Regions from separate parts of the Homo sapiens genome. Here all the other regions are linked to region 1. Evidence: promoter capture Hi-C in 16 types of primary human blood cells and fetal thymus (Javierre and others, 2016). All regions are on one chromosome and are shown on one strand. Each heading gives the region's core, a stretch centred on a gene start or on the middle of the fragment in contact. The rest is flanking DNA. Distances are from core to core; before and after follow the strand shown.

Region 1 (3,358 bases), core at 562-3,061:
TCCATATAATCCCCCCATCTCAAGAACCTTAACATACTCACATCTGCAAACCCCCCTTTGCCACATAAAACAACCTACAGGCTCCAGGGATTAGGATATGAACATCTTTGGGAAGCCGATATTCTGCCTACCACCGCTTGGGAGTCAGGTTTGAATTTCAGCTTTGTCATTTCAATCTTCATTTCCTAAATATGTGTTGAGTACCCCCATATCACGTCCTGAAATAGATCTAAGAAATACACTAACTAGCTCCCGTGGCCTTGCCCAAGTTATATAACCTCCCTGCACCTCCATTTTTCTCACTGGCAGAACTGACGAGATTAATATCTGCCTCAGAGGAAACGCTGTATGTAAAGTGTCTGCCGGCAACCCTTTCCACTTAAACAGCATTCAGGAATTATATGCTATTTTCATCTTGACAAAATGTAAGCAAAATACCAGATTAAGCAGTAAAGAGGTAGAGGAACAGATCCTCTTGGAAACGGCTAGTGTGAATGTGAATTGGTATAGGCTTTCTAGAGGGCAATGTGGCAATGTGAATGGAATGAAAAGCCTTACAAATTTTTTTCTCTTTATCCCAGTGATTATTCATTTCTAGACGTGTATCTGAAGGCCACGGCTGAATTTACATACAAAGATGTTTAGTGAAATATTATTTATATTACTGGAAGGGAAAAAGCAGAAACAGACTAAATGTCCTCTAATAAGCAATTAGGTAAGTACACCCACATAATGGAAATCTCATCAGCCATATAAAAGGACTTTGTAAAAGAATATGAAACATCATGTTCAGAGGTTTGCCAAATGTTAATGACAAAGCTGGGGATTTAAATCAGGGATATTAATTATCTCGTGTCGGTAAAAGAACTCCGTGTGATGAGAGAATGTGTATATAGATAGAAAAAAAAGGACTAAATAAAATAGATTTCGTGATGTTAACAGTGGTTATTTCCAAGTAATGGAAACAAGTGATTTTCATTTTTGTTTACTTGTATTTTCTATTTTCTAATAACAAAGGTGGGGGGTTTCTATACAAAACAATTCCTCTACTAGTTCAACTATCAGGCATTTCTAGGTATAGAACAAACACTGCGGGAGGTGTCCCTCTAGTGGAAGGAGGGATTTTTAAAAATAGTTTATTGTATTGAAGTCTTTGGGAGGCAAACAGAGGTCTGAAGTCAGTAAATGATTCTGCTTATTCCACAGCCACTGCACTCCAGCCTGGGCAACATATCAACATCCTGTCTCGGGAAAGAAAAAAAAAATTAAAAGAAGGATGGGGAGTAATCGCAAAAGGAAGGGCCAAAAACCACCCTAGGAAACAGGTGCTACTAACTCTTGGCGCATTTGGAATATTGACCAGTAACTTTTTCAACTGTCGATGTCGGGGGATTAAGCTCCTTAGGCTTACTTCCCCTTCCCTTGCTTTTTGGCAGCTTGAGGCTAGGGTGCCAGGGGATGTGGAAACTCAAAAGAGACGTGAATGGAGCCTGATATCTGCAAGCTACACCGACAGGGGGCGCCAGCCCCTACAGGTGACTCCATGAATCTTCGGCTCCACTCGGCTCTTCTTCGGCTGAGTTCGGCCAACGCTTGCCTTCTCAGGCTCGGCTCTCTTCGGCTTTCTGAGAGCGCGCCTGTCGTGGCCTCGGCTCCTCTTCGGCTGCGTTCGGCCCACGATCATCTCAGTCTCAGCTCTCCTCGGCTACGTTCGGCTGGCTGCCGTCCTCTCGGACTCGGCTCTCTTCGGTTGAGTTCGGCCTACTCTCCACTAGGAGTCGGCTTCCTTCGGCTGCGTTCGGCTGCGACCCGGAAGAGCTTCCATGGAGTCAGGGCAGCCGGCTCGACGGATTGCCATGGCGCCGCTGCTGGAGTACGAGCGACAGCTGGTGCTGGAACTGCTCGACACTGACGGGCTAGTAGTGTGCGCCCGCGGGCTCGGCGCGGACCGGCTCCTCTACCACTTTCTCCAGCTGCACTGCCACCCAGCCTGCCTGGTGCTGGTGCTCAACACGCAGCCGGCCGAGGAGGTGCGGCCGCGCTGGCGCGGGAGTGAGGGGACTCCGAGAGTGTTGAGGGCCTCCTGAGCGGATGCGAGGCCTCTGACAGGGATGGAGGGGCTCTGAGGGGGATTCAGGCCCCTGACACTACGCGATGACACAGAGAAGGATGGCAGGGGTCCCCAGGGGGATGCAGGTCCCTCACACTGCGGGAACACAGACGTATGTAAGGGGTCGCTAGGAGGATACCGGTCGCTCACACCGTGCGGGGACACTGATAAGAATTGGAGGGGCCCCGAGAAGGCTGCAGGTCCCTGGCAGGAGTTGAAGAACACTAAGAGGAATGCCAGTCCCTGACACTGTGCGGGGACTCTGAGAGGGAAGGGAGGGGTCCCAAGAAGGATGCAAGTCTTTGACCAGAGTTCAAGAACACTAAGAGAAATGGGAGGGGTCCCCAGGGGATGCGGGTCCCTGACACTGTGCAGGCACAGTGAGAATGATGGAAGGGGTCCCGAGAAGGATGCAATTCCCTGACAACACTAAGAGGGATGGGAGGGGTCCCCAGAAGGATGCAGGTCCCTGACATGGGTGCAAGGGCACTGAAAGGTGAAGGGGCTCTGAGTGGTAGGAGAGGATCGGAGGTCGCTGCAGGGGAGGGGGAGATGTCGGAAGGAGGATCTGGATAGGAATAACGGGAGAGTCCTGAAGTTGGCCATTAAGGGAGTTTCTGGGGGCAGAAGGAAGGTCCCTGAAAGGGAACAGTGATGAGGATGGAAGATCTCTGAGGGTGATGGGGAGACATGAAAGGAGATGCTGAGGCGCTGGAAAAACCCCAATAGGGAAAAGGAGGGACCAGGAAATAGGACATTCACCAAGGCTGTGTTAAGAGGGCCATAGGGTCAGAAAGGGATTGGAGCTTGACGCTGAGGATGTTGGCAAAGGTTAACTACAGTTAAGGACAATGGAGAACACTGAGAAAGATGGAATGGGGCTACACATGGGTCTGAGGGGTGTTGAGAGGGGACACAGCTTGGTCGGACAAGTCTGATGATCCCCTAGATATATCAGGTGGCCGGGAGAAAAATGTCAGCTGAGAAGAGTGACCACAGTCTCTTTGAGGGCAGGGATCCTGTTTGATTCATCTAGGTATCCCCAGTGCTTGGCATAGGGCCTAAGGCAACACACAGGGCCTAGTAAAGATGGTTTTAAACTGGGGATATAAATAAACCAAGCCAAGGGACCCAGTGACATGAAGTCCCTCTAGGATAGATTAGCACAGAACTGATAGTCTAAAACATTGTCTGGGGAAAGGATTCCCTTGTTATCATCTCATAGAATGTGCTTGGCTACAAACCTGG
Region 2 (3,358 bases), core at 282-2,781, 440 kb after region 1:
TGAGGTCAGTCCTATTATTACCTCGCCCTCCGGAAGAGGACACAGGTGAGATTCCTGCTGGAGCCACACAAATCACTCCGCAGAAAGACAGTTTGGATAATCAGGACAACATATCATTAGCAGGACATTTGAAGCGGTGCGTAATCGTGCTAAAAATATTAATTTGGAAAGAATCTTGAGGCAGCCAAATTTCCATTCGAATCCTCACCTCCTTTTACAATAGTTTTGGGAGCAGGGAAGGATCTGAGAGGGAATGTGCCATCTCTAGCACTTTTTTAATGACATACATGTATTTTTTATTCCACAAAGTGAATGCAGGCTTATTGCAGACAACTTGGAACATAACGGAGAAAAATGAAATCCATAAACCTACCCCCCAGGGGAGGCCTCTGTTAACCCCATGGTAGGTCGGCTGTTTTCAGCATGTGTGTGCTTTAGAATACGTTGATTGAAATATAACATATGTGCAGAAAAATGCATGGATCATAAATGTATAGCTTGATGGAATTTTCGGGCAAAAACTCCCATGTAATAAGCATCTGGATCAAGAAACGGAACATATGAAAGTGTGTGTTTTTTTGTCTTTCAAATTAAAAAAGTTTTTTAGAAACAGGGTCTCACTCTGTGGCCCAGGCTGGAGTGCAGTGGCACGGGTATGGCTCACTGCAGCCTCCACCTCCTGGGCTCAAGTGATCCTCCTCCTTTAGCCTCCCAAGGAGCTGGGACTACAGGTGCACACCACCAAGCCTGGCTAATTTTTTAATTTTTTGTAGAGACAGGGTCTGGCTATGTTGCCTAGGCTGATTTCGAACCCCTGGACTCAAGAGGATCTCCTGCCTCGGCCTCCCAAAGTGCTGAGATTACAGGCGTGAGTCACTGCACCCAGCCACCAATGTGGTTTTTAAACAAAATCAGGGCCCTATGGTGTTGTGAGCCCAATTATATTCCCCAAAAAGATATGTTGAAATCCTCACCCCAGCTACCTGTGAGTGTACCCAGTGGGCCTGCTGGACAACTTGATTTCTGTCTTCTGGTCTACAGAGCTCTGAGAAAATCCATTTCTGGTGCTTTAAGCTGCCCTGTTTGTGGTGATTTTTTACAACACCCCTAGGAAACTGAAACGCGTGGGTACAGGCAGCTTAATATTTTTTCCTGATTATGAAAGTCACCAAGTTCACCTCTCACCTGGACACACGTACCAGCTCCTGGAGTGATCTAAGAATGTCATCTTGCACAGCCGGTGACTGCTGCAGACACATCAAATGATGTCAGCTCTGCACCATGCCCTGTGGCCTCGGGGACAGCGAGCAGACCATGGGTGTTGGGAAGGAGGGCCTGGGAGGGGGAACAAAGACCCCACTGACAGGAGCAGGGTAAGGGGCCTGGCTCCTGCTATTTCCTGGCCAGGCTGACCCAGTCCTGCCTCCCAGTCTTTGCCCCAGGCTCCTCCTCTGTCCATCACAGGTAGAGCCATTGCTCTAGTGCTGGCTGGGTCCCCTTGGCCCCAATGGGTGGCCCTGCCTTTCCTGGCACCTTGGTCCTGTAGTGGGGGGCACCCCAACCCAGCCCCATCTGCACCCTGGAACCCTCTGAACCTGAGAGGCGGTGGGTTGGTATTTTCACATCCTAAGTGAACAGATATAAGCCCAGGTCATAAGTTTGCTGGTTCAGAGACATGAGAAGGGCTACACAGTGAGGTTAGCAATAACTTTGGCTTTCCCAAGAGCTAAAAAGGCTGCCTTGAGGCTCTGGGACTAGTTGAGAATGGGCTACAAGAAGATCAGTGGGGCTGGGCATTGTGGCTCATGCCTGTAATCCCAGCACTTTGGGAGGCCAAGGTGGGAGGATTGCTTGGGGCCAGGAGTTCAAGATCAACTTGGCCAAAATAGCAAGATCCCATCTTGTAAAAAAATGCTCAGGGGGCAGCACAAATATTTGGCATCTTGTCTGGAAACCCAAAGACCTGAGATGAGGAAGAAGAGCTAATAGATCAGCAGCAGTGGCTGAGGATGGCCCAGAGTTCACATCTGTCCATAGAAAGGCAGCAAGGGGTGATGTTTGAGGCTGGAGCAGGAGGGAGGCAGGTGACCTGGGGAGTGTGTGGCCTTCTGCAGTCTGGGTGCATTTTCTCACCCACTGTCTGCGTAGGTGACGGATATGGTTTGGCTTTGCGTCCTCACTCAAATCTCATCTTGAATTGTAATCCCCACATGTCAAGGGAGAGACCAGGCGGAGGTAATTGGATCATGGGGGCAATTTCCCGGTACTGTTAGGATAGTGAGTTCTCATCAGATTTGATGGTTTTATAAGGGGCTCTTGCCCCCCGTCACTCGGCAGTTCTTCCTGCCACCTTGTGAAGAAGGTGCTTGCTTCCCCTTTGCCTTCCATCATGACTGTAAGTTTCCTGAGGCCTCCCAAGCCATGCTGAACTATGAGTCAATTAAACCTCTTTCCTTTATAAATTACCCAGTCCCAGGCAGTTCTTACAACAGTAGAAAAATGGACTAATACAGTGACACTCTCAAGAGTAGAATGCCAGGGACATTTTCCCAAGCCCAGAGGTGAGGGCCGCCTCCCTCCTAACAAGACCAGGCAGCCCAGGACGGGGAGGAACCCCCGGGGCAAGTCTGTGCCCATTTTGGGCAGGGCCCTGGCAGGGAGTGAGGCAAACCTCAGCCCACATCTGCTCATCACTTCCCCTGCACCTCCCCAGCAAGGCTCTGCCCAGCAGATCTTGGCACATTGTCAGCACTCAACAGATATTTGTTGGATGTGTTGCTGGCTGGATAAATAGGTGGATGGACAGACAGACGGATGGATGGATGGATGGATGGATGGATGGATGGATGGATGGATGGACAGGCAAGCAGAGACATGGAGAAACAGATGATTAGATGGATACACAGGTGGATGCATGGGTGGATAGACAAATGGATAGATGGATGAATGCTTTATAAATAAATGGCTGGATTATATGGATGGATAAGTGGATGGATAGATGACAAATGAAGAGACAGATGAATACATGCATAGATAAATGAATTAATAGATGGATGGGTGAATAGATCAATGAATAGATAATAGATAGCCAGACAGACAAACGGCTGGATGGTTTTGGAAAACTTTAGGACAGAGAAGGACAACTCACTGGTCCAAGGTGCAAACTGGGTGTGGTAGGAGCAGCCCAGTATTAAGGTGAACCTCATCACCCAGCAGGAAGAGCCCTGGGGAGGGGATTTGGGCAATTCACACACCTGCAATTCACACCCCAGCCTTTGCTCATGCTGTTCCCTCTGCTTGGAAGGTCCCCTCTCTACTTCTCTGCCTACCCAGATCCCCTCAATCTCTTACAACTCAT
Region 3 (3,358 bases), core at 508-3,007, 420 kb after region 1:
TGAGGGAGGCCATCTTGGACCCTCTAGCCCAGTAACCCCCAGCTGACTGCAGGCCATGAGTGAAGTCAGAGGAAGCAGCCAGCCTGAAAAATATATTCTTTTTTTTTTTTTGAGACAGAGTCTCACTCTGTCACCAGGCTGGAGTGCGGTGGCACGATCTTGGCTCACTGCAACCTCTGCCTCCTGGGTTCAAGCGATTCTCCTGCCTCAGCCTCCCGAGTAGCTGGGATTACAGGCACCCACCACCATGCCCAGCTAACTTCTGTAGAAAAGTAAGTTATTCTTTTAAGTCACTACATTTTGGGGATTGTTTGTTATGCAGCAAAGATGACCAAACACATTATAAGAGGCCAAGCCAGGATTTTAACCCAGGTCTCCCATCCTAGGATCTGGGCCTCTCAGAGGCAGAGACTGTGGTCACAGAGATGAAGAGGATAGTGTCCCTGATTACCAACAAATACCCTGCCAAGTCATCCATGTGAAGAGAGGTATGTCCCGGGGTGGGTTCCCTAGACACTAACGTCAATGTTTTATTTATACAACAATCAATTGCTGCACACCTACCATGTGACAGTCACCATACAAGGTGTGAGGCATGTGGCAGTGAGCAACAGACATGGTCTGTGATCTCATGAAGCTTGACATTTCAGGAATAAGACAGACAAAAGTAAATCAACAACCAAACAATTACAAAATACACAGAGTATTGAGAAAGAAACCAATAGGTACTGAGGAGAGAAATTTATGAGTAGAATAACTTTAGATCATGTGATCAGGAAAGATTGCTCTAAGAAGACAATGTCTAAGCTGGGTCTACAAGAATGAAACATACAAAGAGTTGCAGGAAAAATATCTGGGTAAAAGGAACTGCACAGGCCATGTCCCCAAGGAAGAACAGAGCCTGAGATTTCTAGGTCTGGCTGCAGCAGAGCGAGTCGGGAGGAAAGTGAGTTAAGACAAAGATGGAAGGAAGGATGGGCCAGGCCAGATCATGCCAGCCTTGGAGGCTACATGAAAGAGTTGGGAATTTTCTCCTAGTATGTTGGGAAAGTAATGGGAAGTTTTGACCAGAAGAGTAACATGGTTTTCTTTTTCATTTATTTTCTTTATTTTTATTTGTATTTACTTTTTACTTTTTAAATTAATTTTTGATTGAGTGGATTCAATTAATTGGATGGAGTGCAGTAGTACAATCATAGCTCACTGCAGCCTCAAACACCTGAGCTCAAAGGATCCTGCCACCTCAGCCTTCCGAGTAGCTGGAACAACAAATGTATGTCACCATGCCCGGCTAACTTTTTTTAGAGACAGGGTCTTACTATGTTGCCCAGGCTGGTCTTAAACTCCTGGCCTCAAGTGATCCTCCTGCCTTGGTCTCCCAAAGGGCTGGGATTACAGGTGTGAGCCACCATGCCTGGCTTATTTTACTTAGATTTTAACAGATACCTTTGCTGTATGGACAACAGATCAAAGAGAGGCAACAATGAAAGGAGGGATATTAATCAAGCTGTTGGTGCAGTTACCTAGGTCAAAGATGGTGGTAGCTTGGGCCAGGGCAATGGCTGTGGAGTTGAGAAACACATTAATTTGAAATGCATTTTGGAAGAATTGATAGGACTTAGAGATTGGATTGGAGGGTGAAAAGAGATATTAGAAATTAGCTTGACCTCTCCCAGAGGTGGACTATAAGACAAGGACTTGAGTGATAGAAATCATTTACATAAGAAGGGACTTGAGGGCTGGGCGCAGTGGCTCATGTCTGTAATCCCAGCACTTGGGGATGCTGAGGTGGGTGGATCACCTGAGGGCAGGAGTTTGAGACCGGCCTGACCGACATGGTGAAATCCCATCTCTACTAAATATAAAAAATTAGCCAGGCATGGTGGCATGCACCTGTATGTAATCCCAGCTACTTGAGAGGCTGAGGCAGGAGAATTGATTGAACCTGGGAGATGGAGATTACAGTGAGCCAACATTGCACCATTGCACTCCAGCCTGGGAAAGAGCAAAACTCCATGTCACACACACACACACACACACACACACACACACACACACACACACACAAAGGGGACTTGAGGAAGCATGGGTAGGAAGTGGGGAAGAGAGTCAAGAAAGGAAGCCCACCCACAGGGGTGTGTTATGAAATGAGTTACCTCTGTGGGCAACTGCAGCTCAGTCTCACTCAGGAACTTTGGGAGATAATGTTGAACATACACTGTTCTCATCTGAGAGGCAAGAGAGCTGGGGTATTTATACTCCAGACCTTGCCAGTCATTGGTTGAAAGCTGCTCCCAGGGAGTGTTAATATGCCTGTATTAGTCCATTTTCACACTGCTGATAAAGACATACCCGAGACTGGGTAATTTACAAAAAAAAAAAAAAAAAAAAAAAAAAGATTTAATGGACTTACAGTTCCATGTGGCTGGGGAAGCCTCACAATCATGGTGGAAGGCAAGGAGGAGCAAGTCACCTCTTACATGGATGGCAGCAGGCAAAGGGAGAGCTTATCAGGGGAACTCCTCTTTATAAAACCATTAGATCTCATGAGACTTATTCAATATCATGAGAACAGGACGAGAAAGACTAGCCCACATGATTCAATTACCTCCCAGTGGGTTCCTCCCACAACAGATGGGAATTCAAGATGAGATTTGGGTGGGGACACAGCCAAACTATATCAATGTCAGTATTCTCTCCTGCTATGCGAAAGGGTTGAATGGGCTCCAGAAGTCAGAAGATGTCCTCGGGCAAAGAAATGCAAGTGCCAAAGTTGGAAGCCAGGCCAGGGACAGGTTGATGGGATACATCTCAGTCACCAACAATGCCTGCCACCATTAGCAATGACTCATGTATTCTGGGTTTGAGCAAGTGAAAGTAAGCTTTTTTTTTCCTTTAAAAAATAATAGAGATGGGGTCTCACCATGTTTTCCAGGGTAGTCTGGAACTCCTGGCCTCAAGCAATTCTCCCCCTCAGCCTCCCAAAGTGCTGAGATTACAGACATGAACCACCATACCCAGCGAATAAGTAAGTTCTACATTCATGGAGTCCTCCATGACATCTTTCCTTTACTTCAGTGGCTCTCTTTTCTCCCATCTCAGCCCTTCTGTTACCAGACTATTTTTTTTTTTTTTTTTTTTGAAATGGGGTCTCACTCTGTCACCCAGGCTGGAGTGCGGTGATGCAATCTCAGCTCACTGCAACCTCTGCCTCTGTGTTCAAGTGATTCTCCTGCCTTAGGTCCCAAATAGCTGGGATTATAGGCGCCCGCCACCACGCCTGGCTAATTTTCGCTCTTGTAGCCCAGGCTGGAGTGCCAATGGCTCAATTTCAGCTCACTGCAACCTTCGCCTCCCA
Region 4 (3,358 bases), core at 494-2,993, 400 kb after region 1:
CTCCTGACCTCGTGATCCACCCCCCTCGGCCTCCCAAAGTGCTGGGATTACAGGTGTGAGCCACCGTGCCCGACCAACTCTGGCATTTTAACTCAAAAGTAGCCACAGATAGTACACAAACAAACGGATGTGGCTGTGTGTTGCAATAAAACTTTATTCACAAAAACAAGGAGTGGGCCAAACTTGGCCCACAGGCCGTATTTCCTGACTCCTGTTCCAGAGCAAAAGCTTATCCTTCAGTTAGAACATCATGAACTTGGCCCTGGCAACGTTCTTTTCTCCCCACCTGTGAGGTGACAGAGTTATGTTTCGGAACAGATGACCACTGTCTCTGGAGAGGTTAGGTTGGCTCCTCCTTCTTTGAGGGAATTCTGCAGCTCTTGGAAATTAGATCTATTAGGATTTCTTGGTGACAGCCACAATAGAATACCCTGGGGATTTCAACATTGTAATTTTAGTAGCTGTCAACTGAGTAACTTTTAAAGAGGAAAGAAAGTGTGGTAGTTCAGAAAAATACCTCAGTGGTTCACTTTGCCTGTGGAAGCCATTCTTTAAACTGAGAATAAAAATCTTTTTTTTTTTTTTTTTTTATAATCAGTGTCTTGCTCTGTTGCCCAAGCTGGAGTGCACTGGTGCCATTATAGCTCACTGCAGCCTTAAACTCCTGAGCTCAGGTGATCCTCCTGCCTCAGCCTCCTGAGTAGCTGGGACTACAGATGAACATCACTCTTGGCTTTTTTTTTTCTTTTTTTTGAGATGGAGTCTCGCTCTGTCGCCCAGGCTGGAATGCAGTGGTGCGATCTCGGCTCACTGCAAGCTCCGCCTCCCGGGTTCACGTCATTCTCCTGCCTCAGCCTCCTGAGTAGCTGGGACTACAGGCGCCCACCACCACGCCTGGCTTTTTTTTTTTTTTTTTTTTTTTTTTTGTATTTTCAATAGAGACGGGGTTTCACTGTGTTAGCCAGGATGGTCTCGATCTCCTGACCTCAGCCTGCCAAAGTGCTGGGATTACAGGCATGAGTCACCGTGCCCGGCCACTCTCGGCTAATTTTTTTATTCTTTTATAGAGTCGGGGTCTCACTACGTTGCCCAGGCTGGTCTTGAACTCCTGGCTTCAAGTGATCCTCCTGCATCAGCCTCACAAAGTGCTGGAATTGCAGGCGTAAGCCGCCATGCCCGGCTGAAAATAGCTTAAGACAGAATGGCAGGGGTGTGTGTGTGTGTGTGTGTGTGTGTGTGTGTGTGTGTAGGGAGAGGGTGGAGAAGAGAAAGGGAATTTCCCAAGAGGGCAGAGAGCTGGAGCCAAAGGATTCCTAGCAGGAGGGTCAGAGAGGAAGGTGTGACTTCTTTTTTTAAACAGCTTTATTGAGAGATTATTCACTTAACGTACACTTCACCCATTTAACATGTATGATTCAATGTCTTTGAGTGTATACACAGAGTTGTACAACCATCACAATCAATGTTAGAACACCATCAACTCAAAAAGAAACCCTGGGCCCAGCACTTTGGGAGGCCAAGGCAGGCGGATCATCTGAGGTCAGGAGTTTGAGACCAGCCTGGCCAACATGGTGAAACCCCGTCTCTACCAAAAGTACAAAAATTAGCCAGACGTGGTGGCGTGTACCTGTAATCCCAGCTACTCAGAAGGCTGAGGCAGAAGAATCGCTTGAACCCCGGAGGCGGAGCTTGCAGTGAGCCGAGATCATACCATTGCACTCCAGCCTGGGCAACAGAGTGAGACTCCATCTCAAAAAAAAAAAAAAAAAAGAAAAGAAACCCAGAACCCTCCCGCATCCTAATCCTCCAACGCCCCCAACCCTGAGCAATCACAAATCTACTTTCTGCCCCTGTGGATTTGTTTATTCTGCACATTTCCTATAAATGGAATCACACAATTAATGCGGTCCTTTGTGACTGGATCCTTTTACTTAGCAGGACGTTCTCAAGGTTCAGCCACACTGTAGCATGGATCAGAACTTCATTCCTTCTTACAGCTGAATCATATTCTGTATTATGGATGGGCCACCATTTTGTTTAACCACTGTCAGTGATGGACATACGGGTTGTTTACACTTTTTGGCTGCTATGAATAATGCAGCAATGAACATTCATGTGTTAGTCTTTGTGTAAACAGATGCTTTCATTTCTCTTAGGCATATAGGTCAGAGTAGAATTGCTGGGCCATAAGGCAACCCTATGTTTATCATTTTGAGGAACTGCCAGGGGCAAGTCTTAATATATTGCCTTTTTATTTTTAATTTTTGTTTTTATTTTCTTGAAACGGGGTCTGGCTCTGTCACTCAGGCTGGAGTGCAGTGGTGCAATCACAGCTCACCACAGCCTTGAACTCCTGAGCTCAGGCCATCTGCCTGCTTCAGCCTCCCGAGTAGCTGGGACCACAGGCACATGCCACTATGCCTGGCTAATTTTTTATCTTTTGTAACAATGAGGTCTTGCCATGTTGCCAGCTGGTCTTGAATTCCTAGGCTCAAGTGATCCTTCCACTTTAGCCTCCCAAAGTGTTGGGATTAGAGGCATGAGCCACTGTGCCTGGCCTTTATTGCCTTTTTTTTTTTTTTTTTTTTTTTGAGATGGACTCTCGCACTGTCGCCCAGGCTGGAGTGCAGTGGCGCCATCTCAGCTCACTGCAAGCTCCACCTCCCAGGTTCACGCCATTCTCCTGCCTCAGCCTCCCGAGTAGCTGGGACTACAGGCGCCCACCACCACGCCCGGCTAATTTTTGGTATTTTTAGTAGTAACGGGGTTTCACCATGTTAGCCAGGATGTTCTCGATCTCCTGACCTTGTGATCCGCCTGCCTCGGCCTCCCAAAGTGCTGGCATTACAGGCGTGAGCCACTGTGCCCGCCTTTTTAAACTTTGTATTATAGAGTTTAAATTGTGAGTGATGGCTCACACCTGTAATCCCAACACTTTGGGAGGCCAAGGCCAGAGGATCACTTGAGCCCAAGAGGATGGGACTACAGTCAGCTATGATCACATCACTGTACTCCAGCCTGGGCAACAGAGCCAAACCCTGTCTGTAAATAAATAAATAAAACCCCACCACTATGTATTATGGAAATTTCCCACCATACCTGAAAGTAGTATGTGGTATGTAACAAGCATCCAGTATTCATCATCCAGGTTCGACACCGCTCGGCTTTTGCCTGTGTTCTTTCCCACTGAGTATTTTAGAGGCAGCATCGCACTTGATGTTGTTTCTTTGTCTGAGAGCTCAACATTTTCTTTTGTCCCAAAGCTTCCAAGTCTCCTGCACCCACATCCTTGTGTGGGATGGGATTTGGGGAGAATGGATGAACTGGGGCAGAATCAATGTGGGGAAGGAAGGGAACA
Region 5 (3,358 bases), core at 600-3,099, 380 kb after region 1:
TTTTGAGACAGAGTCTCACTTTGTCGCCCAGGCTGGAGTGCAGTGGCACAATCTTGGCTCACTGCAGCCTTCGCCTCCCGGGATCAAGCCACTCTCCTGCCTCAGCTTCCCAAGTAGCTGGGACCACAGGTGCTCACCACCACACCCCATTAACTTTTTTGTATTTTTAGTAGAGACGGGGTTTCACCACGTTGTCCAGGCTGGTCTCAAACTTCTGACCTCAAATGATCCACCCGCCTCAGCCTCCCACAGTGCTGGGATTACAGGCATGAGCCACGGTGCCTGGCCTAGCCTCAGTCTTTCGATCTGGAAAATGGGTAAGTTCAGTAAGTTACTATTCTTCATGTGCTTAGGTCTCGGGGTGGGGGGGAATGGGGACTGTTATTATCAGTGATCAGCTGTTGCCTTTTGTGCTACATTTCCTCTCCAAGTTGCTATTGGAAAAACCATCCCAAGGTCCCCCGTGCCCCACCGACCCCGGGTCCAGAGTGAACACAGCCTTCCTTGCCTCCCCTAGAGCAAGGAAGAAATCCCTCCAGATTTCTGGAATTAAGGCCCAATGAGGAAAAGGGGACATGAGCAAGTCCTGTGCGTCGGCTGCAAGATAAGAAAGATGACCCATAATCCCAGCACTTTGGGAGGCCGAGGCGGGTGGATCACCTGAGGTCGGGGGTTTGAGACCAGCCTGGCCAACATGGTGAAACCCCATCTCTACTAAAAATACACAAATTAGCTGGGCATGGTGGCGCATGCCTGTAATCCCAGTTACTCTGGAGGCTGAGGCAGGAGAATCGCCTACACCTGGGAGATAGAGGTTGCAGTGAGCCGAGATCGCGCCACTGCCCTCCAGTCTGGGCAAGAGGAGTGAAACTCTGTCTCAAACAAAAAAAAAAAAAAGAAAAAGAAAGAAAGAGGATGGAGAGGGCAGGGACACCACAGGCAGAAGGAGAGGAGGCCAGCTCGCTCCCCTTGGCTGGGGTCCCTGGGACCTCCTCTGTGGCATCAGGACTGCCCGCTAAGTTGGGTGGTGTGTTTTATGAGCGTGACCTGTGTTGGCCAACAGAGGACAGCAAAATACATTTTTTATGATCCTGGGAGGTTCAGGCCAGTCACGTTTTCGCGCAGAGAGGCTGGGCGGTGGAGAGGGACAAGTCATGTCTCAGTTATGTGGATTCTCTTTGCGAAAGAGGGGCCACTTCTGCAATGGATTTGGGGGTCCCTGGGCAGGGGTGTGGGGGTGGGGGAAGATTTTAGGAAGGGGATGAGCTGCTGGGGGGGGGCATCTCCCTTACTGCGGGAAATGAAAAGTATTACAGCTATGGCTGGTGAGAGTGTCAGCACCAGAGGCCAGATCTTTGCCAGGTGGAGGGGACACCCTTGTGCCCTACCCCCAAGTTCCAGCACCTCTCCAAGAGCCCTTAGCCCCGGAAGCAGCAACAAAGTGACATTGGACTGGGGAGGAGGAAGCACAACTTTATTTTCTGGCCCGAAGCTGGGTTGGTATTTGGGGGAGTTCTTGGGAACACAGTGTGTCTGTGCAATTTCAACCCTGGGGGATCCAGGGGACTCCAGCCATTCCAGAGGAGGTGAGAGACCGTCATGGGGTGGGTGTAAGAGGCTTGGGGAACCTGCCTGATGCTGCTCCTACTTTTACTGTTTGTTCACGGGGGTTGTGTGTGTTTGTGCGGCGGGGGAAGCGGGGGGTGCTGAAAATTGGGGGAAGGGCCAAAAGCGCCAGCTGGCATTGGCACTGGGTGTTCCCGAAAGAGGGGGACAGACCGGGTCTGAATCTTCAGTGGATGCGCCCCTAGCTCCCGGATACCTCAAGCGCCTTTGGAGGACTCCAGCACGCCCCTCGGGAGGGAAGCCCGGCCTCGGTTCCGTCTGTGGGCTGCGGTGGTACTGGAAGTGGGGACTCTTTCCCCCTCCTCCGTGCCCCCTGTTTGAAGCACCCCGGGCTCTGCCCCCCGCCCCCAGGGTCGAGGCTGACGTCGCCGCCGCATTTCTAGGAATGCCCCTATCCGCTGACTATATTTGGCGAGCGTTTCTAGGAAGGCGCCCCCCCACCCCGGCCCCCGCCCCCACCCCCACCCCCACCCCCACCCCCACCCCCACCCGGGCGGGCGCGCTAGGCTTCCAGGCTCTCGCCCTCTCTGCCTGGCCGGGGAGGAGCCGCCCCGCCGCCTGGGCCGCTGCCGCCGCCGCCTCCCCAGCGCGGCCAACCCCGGGCCGGCCCAGCCCCCGCCCCGGGCCGGCCATAGGGCGCTGGGGGGTTGGGGGGGGCGGGGGCGCGGCTTTGTGGCGGCAGCGGACCGTGGAGGCCGGGTGCAGCCCCGTCGGCTGCGCGCTCTCTGCAGAAAAGGATTTTCTACGCTCCCCGCCCATCACTTGGATCTCGTCTGGGGAGGGGCGGATTTTTTTTCTGGAAGTACCCTTCTTCTCCACGGTGGAGGATTTAAGGCTGGGCTCCAATCGAGGCGGAGGCTGCAGGGCCCGCGGGGCGCCCCCCGCCCGGCGCACGCCTGCCCGGAGCCCGGGAAGGCGCAGCCCTGGGTGGGGGGGCCCGTGCACCCCCGGAGGCGGCAGCGGCGGTGAGTGCTCCCCTTCTTCCCGCCTGGCACCTTCCGCCAGCCAAGGCAGGGATCGCGGCAGGTGGGTGCCCAAGCCCCCAGGGCCGAAGGGGTGTGGGGCGGCTGTCTGCGGGGTGGATGGGAACGGGAGAGGGGAGGTGGCGGCGGGGGAGCGCGCGGTTCTCTCGGGACTCGGCGCGAGACGCTTGTCTGGGCTGCGATTGCCGCCGCTGCCGCCACCCCGGCTCCCCCTCGGACCCCTCCCCCGCTCCCCAGAGGGGCGTGTGAAGCCGGGAGGTAGGAAGGGGGCGAGGCCGCCCCCAGCCTCCCTAGTGCCTGGGCTTGGAAATTGACGAGGCGGTGGAGCGTCCGCGTCCCCGCCCCCACCCCGGAAAGCCCGCTCGGGAAACTGACTCGCTGCGTGACCCCGATCTCAATGCCGCGCGCGGAGCAGGCCGGCCGCGCCCGCCGCTCCACGTGCGCCCGAGCCCCGCTGGCATGGGCGGCGGCGCCTGCGGGGGCCGGGCCCCGGGGATCCCGGACTAGCCGGGAACCACCGTCCCCAGAGAGTTACCGCCGCCCCCTAAAGTTGTCAGCTCCCTCCCCCCGAGAAGCAGGCAGCCCTGGCGCGTTGGCTTTAGCTTCTGCAGGACGGGGGCAAAAAAACTAGGTTCCGGGGTGCGGAGCGGGGTGTCTGTGCCCGAGACAACACCAAGTTAGGAAAAAGAAGTTAGAAAAAAAAAGAAAAAGGCATTTTGATTTGGGGGTGGGGGGAGTGGCGTTTCTGG
Region 6 (3,358 bases), core at 240-2,739, 360 kb after region 1:
TGATGAGGTGATACCAGGGCATCCTGTACAACTGTAATTTCTGTGCAGGAAAAAAATCTACTTTTCATCCCTATAACATTTTGTGTGTGGTTGCCATTATTTGTTAAGGGTGTTGAAATAATCATCATCACCTCTCTTTTCAAGCCAGAAGATTTTTGGTTACACAGACCACCCATCTTGCTGCATTCTGCCAGGGCTGACACAGTTCCCACATGTGGCAGGGATTTTCACTTGGACAGACTGTTAAAAGGAGGTGAATACAGTTACCATAATCATTCCAACTACTCCTCCACTGAAAAAAAAAATCACAGGAAACTCACATAATTAAATTCCAAAGAAATGAATTCAAAATTAAAGACTCACAGGCATCAGCATCAAACAATGGGGAAATGAAATATTCATGGATAGGAAGATTCCATACTGTTAAGTCATCCATTCCCCCAAATTCATCTGTAGATTCAACGCGTTCCCAATCAAAATCCCAGAAGGCATTTTATAGAAACTGATGAGCCGATTCCAGGAATTATATGGAAATGCAAAGGATCTATTATAGGCAAAACAATTTTGTAAAAGAAAAACAAAGTGGAAGGATTTACAATACTTGATTTTGTACCCACTATAAATATACAATAATCAAGACTGGTGGTAATTGCCATAAAGATGGACATATGGATCAACAGAACAGAATAAAAAGACCAAAAATAGACCACACACAGTTCATTGAATTTTAACCAAGGTACCCAGGCAATTCAATGGGGAGAGGGTAATCATTTCAACAAATGGTGCTGAGGCCCAGCATGGTGGCTCACACCTGTAATCCTAGCACTTTGGGAGACCAAGGCAGGAGGATCACTGGAGCCCAGGAGTTCAAGACCAGCCCAGGCAACATAGCAAGACCCCCCCCCCAACCCCCGACATCTACAAAAGAATTTTAAAATTAGGGCCAGGCGACGTGGCTCAGGCCTGTAATCCCAGCACTTTGGGAGGCTGAGGTGGGCGGATCACTTGAGGTCAGGAGTTCAAGACCAGCGTGGTCAACATGGTGAAACAGCATCTCTATTAGAAATACAAAAATTAGCTGGGCCCACGTGGTGGCACATGCCTGTAATCCCAGCTACCCGGGAGGCTGAGGCAGGAGAATCCTTGAACCTGGGAGGCAGAGTTTGCAAGTGAGCCAAGATCATACCACTGCACTCCAGCCTGTGTGACAGAACAAGACTGCGTCTCGAAAAATAAATAAAAATTAAAAATTAGCCCGGTAGGCATGGTGGCATGTGCCTATAGTCCCAACTACTCTGAAGGCTGAGGCAGGAGGACCAGTTGAGCCAAGGGCTGAATCAGGAGAATCACTTGAGCCCAGGAGTTAGAGGCTGCAGTGAGCTATGATCATGCCATTGCACTCCAGCGTGAGTGACAGAGCAAGACCTTGTCTCTTTAAAAAACAAAAAGAACCCTGCCCATCCCTCACAACACAGGGCCCCTGCCTCAAGGAGCTGGGATACTGTGAGTAGCTAAGTGTGCTTTCTTTAGGTAAAATCTTTATTTAGGGTGTTAGTAAAAAGCCCGCTGTCATGACCTCAGATGACCTAAATATCCAAGCCTGAGGGTTTTTTCTCTTCCACAAGCAAACGAATTTCTCCAGGAATACTTTAAAGCAGTGCTTCCCAAAGTGAGGCCCTGGACCAGCTGCAGCAGCATTAACTGGGAACTTAGAAAGGCAGCTCCGCGGACCCAGCCCAGACTAACTGAATCAGCCTGCATTTTCATGAAATCTGCAGGTGCCACCCAGCCACCACCAAGGCTTACTGAGATAACGCAGGTGCCAGCCCCTCACAGGCCAGGAAGAGCCTCTGTTGCCCACCCTCACTCTGTGGAAGGCAGCAGGCACCAGGCACACAAGGTGAGCCAGGATGGAGGAGCTGGGGGAAGCCCAGGTCCTCCCTGGAGCCAGAAAGTGTCTTGGAGACATTGCCATTGAATTGTTCAGAAACAATTTTTCAGACACCCACAGCTGTAGCTAAACCACTTTAGATAGATATTGTATCTCGGTAGGGCTTAGGTTAATCAGGCACCATCAGGAAGGGAGAGAGGAAGTAAAAAGGCATTCAGCCTTCTAAGACCCTCAGGAGGTCTTTTTGAAAATCTAATAACGGCTGGGCGCGGTGGCTTATGCCTGTAATCCCAGCACATTGGGAGGCTGAGTCAGGTGGATCACGAGGTCAGGAGCTCAAGACTGGCCTAACATGGTGTAACCCCGTCTCTACTAAAAATACAAAAATTAGCCAGGCGTGGTGGCACGCACCTGTAATCTCAGCTACTCAGGAGACTGAGGCAGGAGAATCACTTGAACCCAGGAGGCGGAGGTTGCAGCGAGCTGAGATTGCACCACTGCACTCCAGCCTGGGTGACAGAGCGAGACTGTCTCAAAACAAAAACAAAAACCCCAATAAATTGTGACATCCCTCTTCCAGGAAAACTATATACGCACTTTATATATACTTTTGGGGAAGTCACACGTTTCCTGGGCTTGAGTGCATGGGCTCAGGTTAAGAAATTTTTGAGACAGTCTCACTCCATCTCTGCTCACTGCAACCTCCGCTTCCTGGGTTCAAGTGATTCTCCTGCCTCAGCCTCCGGAGAAGCTAGGACTATAGGCATGTGCCACCACACCCAGCTAACTTTTTGTATTTTAGTAGAGACGTGGTTTCACCATGTTGCCCAGGCTGGTCTTGAACTCCTGAGCTCAGTCTACCCAACTGGGCCTCCCAAAGTTCTAGGATTACAGGCATGAGCCACCTCCGGCCTAAGAATTTCTACTTTACAGACAGGCACAGGGAAATAGAGGTGCCAGAAAAAGCCAAAAAAGATTAAAGACATATATATGTATATATTTTGTTTGTTTCTGAAATAGAAAAGAGTGCCTAAGTTTCAACACAAAGGAAAAGTGGATGCTTATAAATTATTCAGATCTAGGCAACTTAATTATACAGAAGAAACAAAAAGATCAAAAGTATTCCATCATGGCACTTGGCTTTGTCACCAGATCAATTCTGACATTTTCTCACTTAAAACACCGCCTTTCTAGTCCCTTGAAACCACCCTCTGCTTCAGCCAACCCTGGTTTCTCACCCTAGCATTTGGGAGGCCTGGGATTGGGTCACAGTTGTGTGACAACAGAACCTCACCTGGACCACAGACCCTGTCAGGGCACAGGGAATGTTTGCTTAAAGTTTCTCAGTAAGAGTGAACAATGGCCAATTCCTTATGACCGAGAAATGGAAGGTTTTGGCTTGATCACCAAAAGCCTTACTGAAAGTTCAGCACTGGGACATTTGTTGGTACAGTGGTTGGAGAGTCC
Region 7 (3,358 bases), core at 374-2,873, 340 kb after region 1:
TCTTTATTAAAAAGAGACATTAGCCACAAAAAGAATCAAGGATATTGTTGCCTCAGCTTACATATCTTTGAAGTATAAAAATCAATATTTAAAAAAAAATTCCTGGATAGTATTTGCATATTTGGAGTAGTCTTAAAATTACCCTGATGAAAGGAGTTTTATTTGAATTTTCAAATAGTGGTCAGAAGTTCTCCATTTATAGCAGGTATTATTTGACACTGAAGTTGACGTTGACATAGAGAATTGATATTTGACTACAGATCTACACACACAAATAGTATTTTTTGCTAAGAATTATATTGGCCTTACAAAAATAACTTCAGCCGGCCAACCCCCGTGGCTTATGCCTATAATCCCAGCACTTTGGGAGCCCGAGGCAGGTGGATCACTTGAGGTCAGGAGTTCAAGACCAGCCTGGCCAACATGGTGAAACCCCCGTCTCTACTAAAAATACAAAAATTAGCAAAAATTAGCCGGGTGTGGTGGCAGGCACCTTAAACTTGGAAATTAAAATGTGACACAATCAAGCTATTTTCTAAAATGAGATTTTTTTTAATGACAAAGTATCCAGTAAGTATATTATTTCATCTTGTCTACTAATATCAGTAATAACGAGAACCAAGTTTTATATAGTTACAAGACTAGTTACTTGTGACACCGTGCCTTGCCCTGCCTGTAATCCCAGCACTTTGGGAGGCCACGGCAAGCGGATCACCTGAGGTCAGGAGTTCAAGACCAGCCTGGCCAACATGGTGAAACTAAAAATACAACAATTAGCTGGGCATGGTGGAGGGCACCTGTAATCCAGCCACCCAGGAGGCTGAGAGGCAGGAGCATCACCAGAACCCAGGAAGTGGAGGCTGCAATGAGCTGAGATCATGCCACCGCACTCCAGCCAGGCTTGGCAACAGTGCAAGACTCCGTCTCAAAAAAATAAAAATAATAAAAATAAAAAAGACTAGTTACTTAGATGACACTTAAAGCTTTCAAAACAGTTTTAGAGATGACTACTGATAATTAAAAGTAACAAACCATTCAAAAATAAATGCAGTACACACAGTTGACAATTCATTTATAGGAATCAAATTTTAAGTTCCTTCTCTCAGCCATTTGCACATAGCAATCATTGAGCTTTAAGAGGTATTGTTAATTTATTTTTCCTAGTGTATCTGCATATAAATGAAACCAATCATAGCCTCATAAAACTTAAGATACTTCATTCATTTATGTAGTTTAGTGAACGCCAGTATTTATAGAAGATGGTCTGTTAATTTGCTGCCTGATCTGGCAAGGAATAACACATAATGAAGACATTTACCAAATCATCAAAATTTTATATAAGCTCAGAAAACAAGACCAAAAAGTGAAAGAGATAACCAAGTGATCCACCTCACCTTAAAAGAAAAGGATCAAAGGAACCATATGTTAGCTTTAATTCAGAAATGAAATCAAATGTCATTGTATATTTTCAGAACTTTACACAGAATGCACATGGCTAAATTGGGTACCCAGTCCAACTGTAATGATAAAAAAAAAAAAAAGGAAAAAAGAATGTAATTACCTCTTTCATAACATTGAGGATGTACTTCATGTCTCAGCACAAACTCAGGATGTACATTTCAACATTTATATTAGGAGTATCATGTTGCTATAGATAGATTCATAGGATGATATGAGCCCTATCTTAAAACTTTAATGACAAAATAACGACTCAAAGATAAAATAATCTAAAACCATTGATACCTATCTAGTGAGATATAACTGCTTTTAATGCTTAGTCTTACTGAGAAGAATTTAAAGCATATCAGAATGTAATAAACTGGTCTTGGACAGTCTGCTGACTAAATTTACAACAAAAAGGAATGTAATAAACTTTTATGTTTATCTATTTGACTAAAATGATCCATCATCCTAAAGGTTGTCAAGGATTGTACCTGACCAATAGCATTCTCTTCCTACTTCTAAGACGGACGTGCATAGAAGGAATCGCATAATAGCAATGTAACTGTCCTAGTAATTAATAAAAATTTTTAAGTAGTAGTAAATCTTCAGTTACTAATTACTTCATTTATTTTACACAGAGATCTCCCTCCCCATAAAAGAAGAACCTTCTCCTATTTCCAAAATGAGACCAGTGACAGCCAGCATCACCACAATGCCAGTGAATACAGTGGTGTCCCGGCCACCACCCCAAGTCCAAATGGCACCACCTGTATCTTTAGAACCTATGGGCAGTTTATCTGCCAGCTTAGAGAACCAACTAGAAGCTTTCTTGGATGGAACTTTACCCTCAGCCAATGAAATTCCTCCACTACAAAGCAGCAGTGAAGACAGAGAGCCCTTCTCTCTGATCGAGGACCTCCAGAATGATCTGCTGAGTCACTCAGGTATGCTGGACCATTCACACTCACCCATGGAGACTTCCGAGACCCAGTTTGCTGCAGGTACTCCCTGTCTGTCTCTCGACCTGTCAGACTCAAACTTGGACAACATGGAGTGGTTGGACATTACCATGCCCAACTCCTCTTCAGGACTCACTCCTCTCAGCACCACCGCGCCGAGCATGTTCTCTGCTGACTTTCTAGACCCACAGGACCTACCGCTGCCATGGGACTAACGTCACAGATTTCTTTTCTGAGAGTTGATGAGGTTTAAGAACATGAAGATTCTAAAAGGTCAGTTTTTAGAGATAGATCTATAGTTGCATTGTTGCAATCAAAATATGTTGTCACAGAAAGAATAGGTGGAAGGTCATAGCCTGGAACCCAAGTTTGAAAACATTTCATTGTGTTCAGTAGTGAATTTCTACAGTTTAACATAGCACAGGGCCTTCTGAAAATCGCACTTGTCAAAGACGACTCATCTATTTCTCCAGACTTCAGTAAAGAATGAAAAGTACCTTTAGATAAAAACAAAGAAGAGTAATATATGCAGCACAGTGACGTTAGGATTCTGGTAATTAACTACATTTAAATCTCTGGTCACTTTAAGACCCTAAATAAAAGGCAGACAGCTCCACTCAAAAACTAAGGCTGATGTGAGGGAGGTGAGAGGTCACTGCACTTGGTACTTCCTAGAGACGGCCGGAGCCAGGCCCAAGACACAGCAGAGGTCAAAGGCAGTGGAGAGCCTTGGCCAGTTCAGTGACAGCTTCTGGCTGAAGACTTTTGGTTCTATTCAGAAACCTGTGTCGTTTTTTTGGTGTTGTAGTTTATTTTGTGATTTTTTGGAATCGTACTTTATATTTCCAAATTTAAATTTAAATGCAAGATCTTTCAACATAAACAGAAGATACCTACAAAATACTGTCAGAAGTCCAGGTATACTGATAACACTGAAAATTCTATTAGCAACCTTC

Evidence for each region. The method cuts DNA at HindIII sites, captures the fragments that hold promoters and counts their contacts. A CHiCAGO score of 5 or more calls a contact.
Region 2: a fragment that was not itself captured here is called in contact with the fragment with the promoter of ERCC4 in region 1 in 2 of 17 cell types (monocytes and naive B cells); the score reaches 8.0 in monocytes.
Region 3: a contact is called between a fragment that was not itself captured here and the fragment with the promoter of ERCC4 in region 1, in 2 of 17 cell types (M0 macrophages and monocytes). The highest score is 7.0, in M0 macrophages.
Region 4: a fragment that was not itself captured here is called in contact with the fragment with the promoter of ERCC4 in region 1 in 1 of 17 cell types (M0 macrophages); the score reaches 6.9 in M0 macrophages.
Region 5: a contact is called between a fragment that was not itself captured here and the fragment with the promoter of ERCC4 in region 1, in 13 of 17 cell types (M0 macrophages, monocytes, M1 macrophages and 10 more). The highest score is 10.3, in M0 macrophages.
Region 6: a contact is called between a fragment that was not itself captured here and the fragment with the promoter of ERCC4 in region 1, in 11 of 17 cell types (M0 macrophages, M1 macrophages, erythroblasts and 8 more). The highest score is 14.7, in M0 macrophages.
Region 7: a fragment that was not itself captured here is called in contact with the fragment with the promoter of ERCC4 in region 1 in 10 of 17 cell types (M0 macrophages, M2 macrophages, M1 macrophages and 7 more); the score reaches 18.3 in M0 macrophages.

The regions. Positions count from the first base shown.
Region 1 is chr16:13,918,343-13,921,700 of GRCh38, forward strand. ERCC4 (ERCC excision repair 4, endonuclease catalytic subunit) reads left to right here and starts at 1,812. Exons shown (of 11, transcript NM_005236.3): 1 at 1,812-2,030. The coding sequence starts at 1,824. All of the region lies in intron 1 of LOC105371093 (a long non-coding RNA gene), which reads right to left. LOC124903647 (a long non-coding RNA gene) reads right to left here and starts at 1,736. Exons shown (of 2, transcript XR_007065001.1): 1 at 1,337-1,736; 2 at 1,123-1,241. RefSeq lists enhancers at 1,396-1,445, 1,656-2,015, 2,056-2,265. The HindIII fragment of the contact is 6,939 bases long and covers 1-3,358 here.
Region 2 is chr16:14,356,265-14,359,622 of GRCh38, forward strand. No RefSeq gene overlaps it. Among named protein-coding and RNA genes, the nearest start is that of LINC02130, 12 kb to the right of the region's middle. RefSeq lists an enhancer at 937-986. The HindIII fragment of the contact is 5,355 bases long and covers 1-3,358 here.
Region 3 is chr16:14,339,284-14,342,641 of GRCh38, forward strand. No RefSeq gene overlaps it. Among named protein-coding and RNA genes, the nearest start is that of LINC02130, 29 kb to the right of the region's middle. The HindIII fragment of the contact is 2,245 bases long and covers 636-2,880 here.
Region 4 is chr16:14,316,357-14,319,714 of GRCh38, forward strand. The region is part of intron 1 of MIR193BHG (MIR193b-365a host gene); the gene reads left to right. Among named protein-coding and RNA genes, the nearest start is that of MIR365A, 8.8 kb to the left of the region's middle. The HindIII fragment of the contact is 3,035 bases long and covers 227-3,261 here.
Region 5 is chr16:14,299,946-14,303,303 of GRCh38, forward strand. It overlaps MIR193BHG (MIR193b-365a host gene), which reads left to right and starts at 1,436. Exons shown (of 2, transcript NR_170633.1): 1 at 1,436-1,586. RefSeq lists silencers at 2,080-2,569, 2,854-3,014, 2,920-3,159. The HindIII fragment of the contact is 3,766 bases long and covers 1-3,358 here.
Region 6 is chr16:14,280,440-14,283,797 of GRCh38, forward strand. No RefSeq gene overlaps it. Among named protein-coding and RNA genes, the nearest start is that of TRT-CGT2-1, 3.8 kb to the right of the region's middle. RefSeq lists an enhancer at 1,347-1,848. The HindIII fragment of the contact is 6,943 bases long and covers 1-3,358 here.
Region 7 is chr16:14,258,828-14,262,185 of GRCh38, forward strand. It overlaps MRTFB (myocardin related transcription factor B), which reads left to right. Exons shown (of 17, transcript NM_001308142.2): 17 at 2,082-3,358. The coding sequence ends at 2,617. Among named protein-coding and RNA genes, the nearest start is that of TRT-CGT2-1, 25 kb to the right of the region's middle. The HindIII fragment of the contact is 1,284 bases long and covers 982-2,265 here.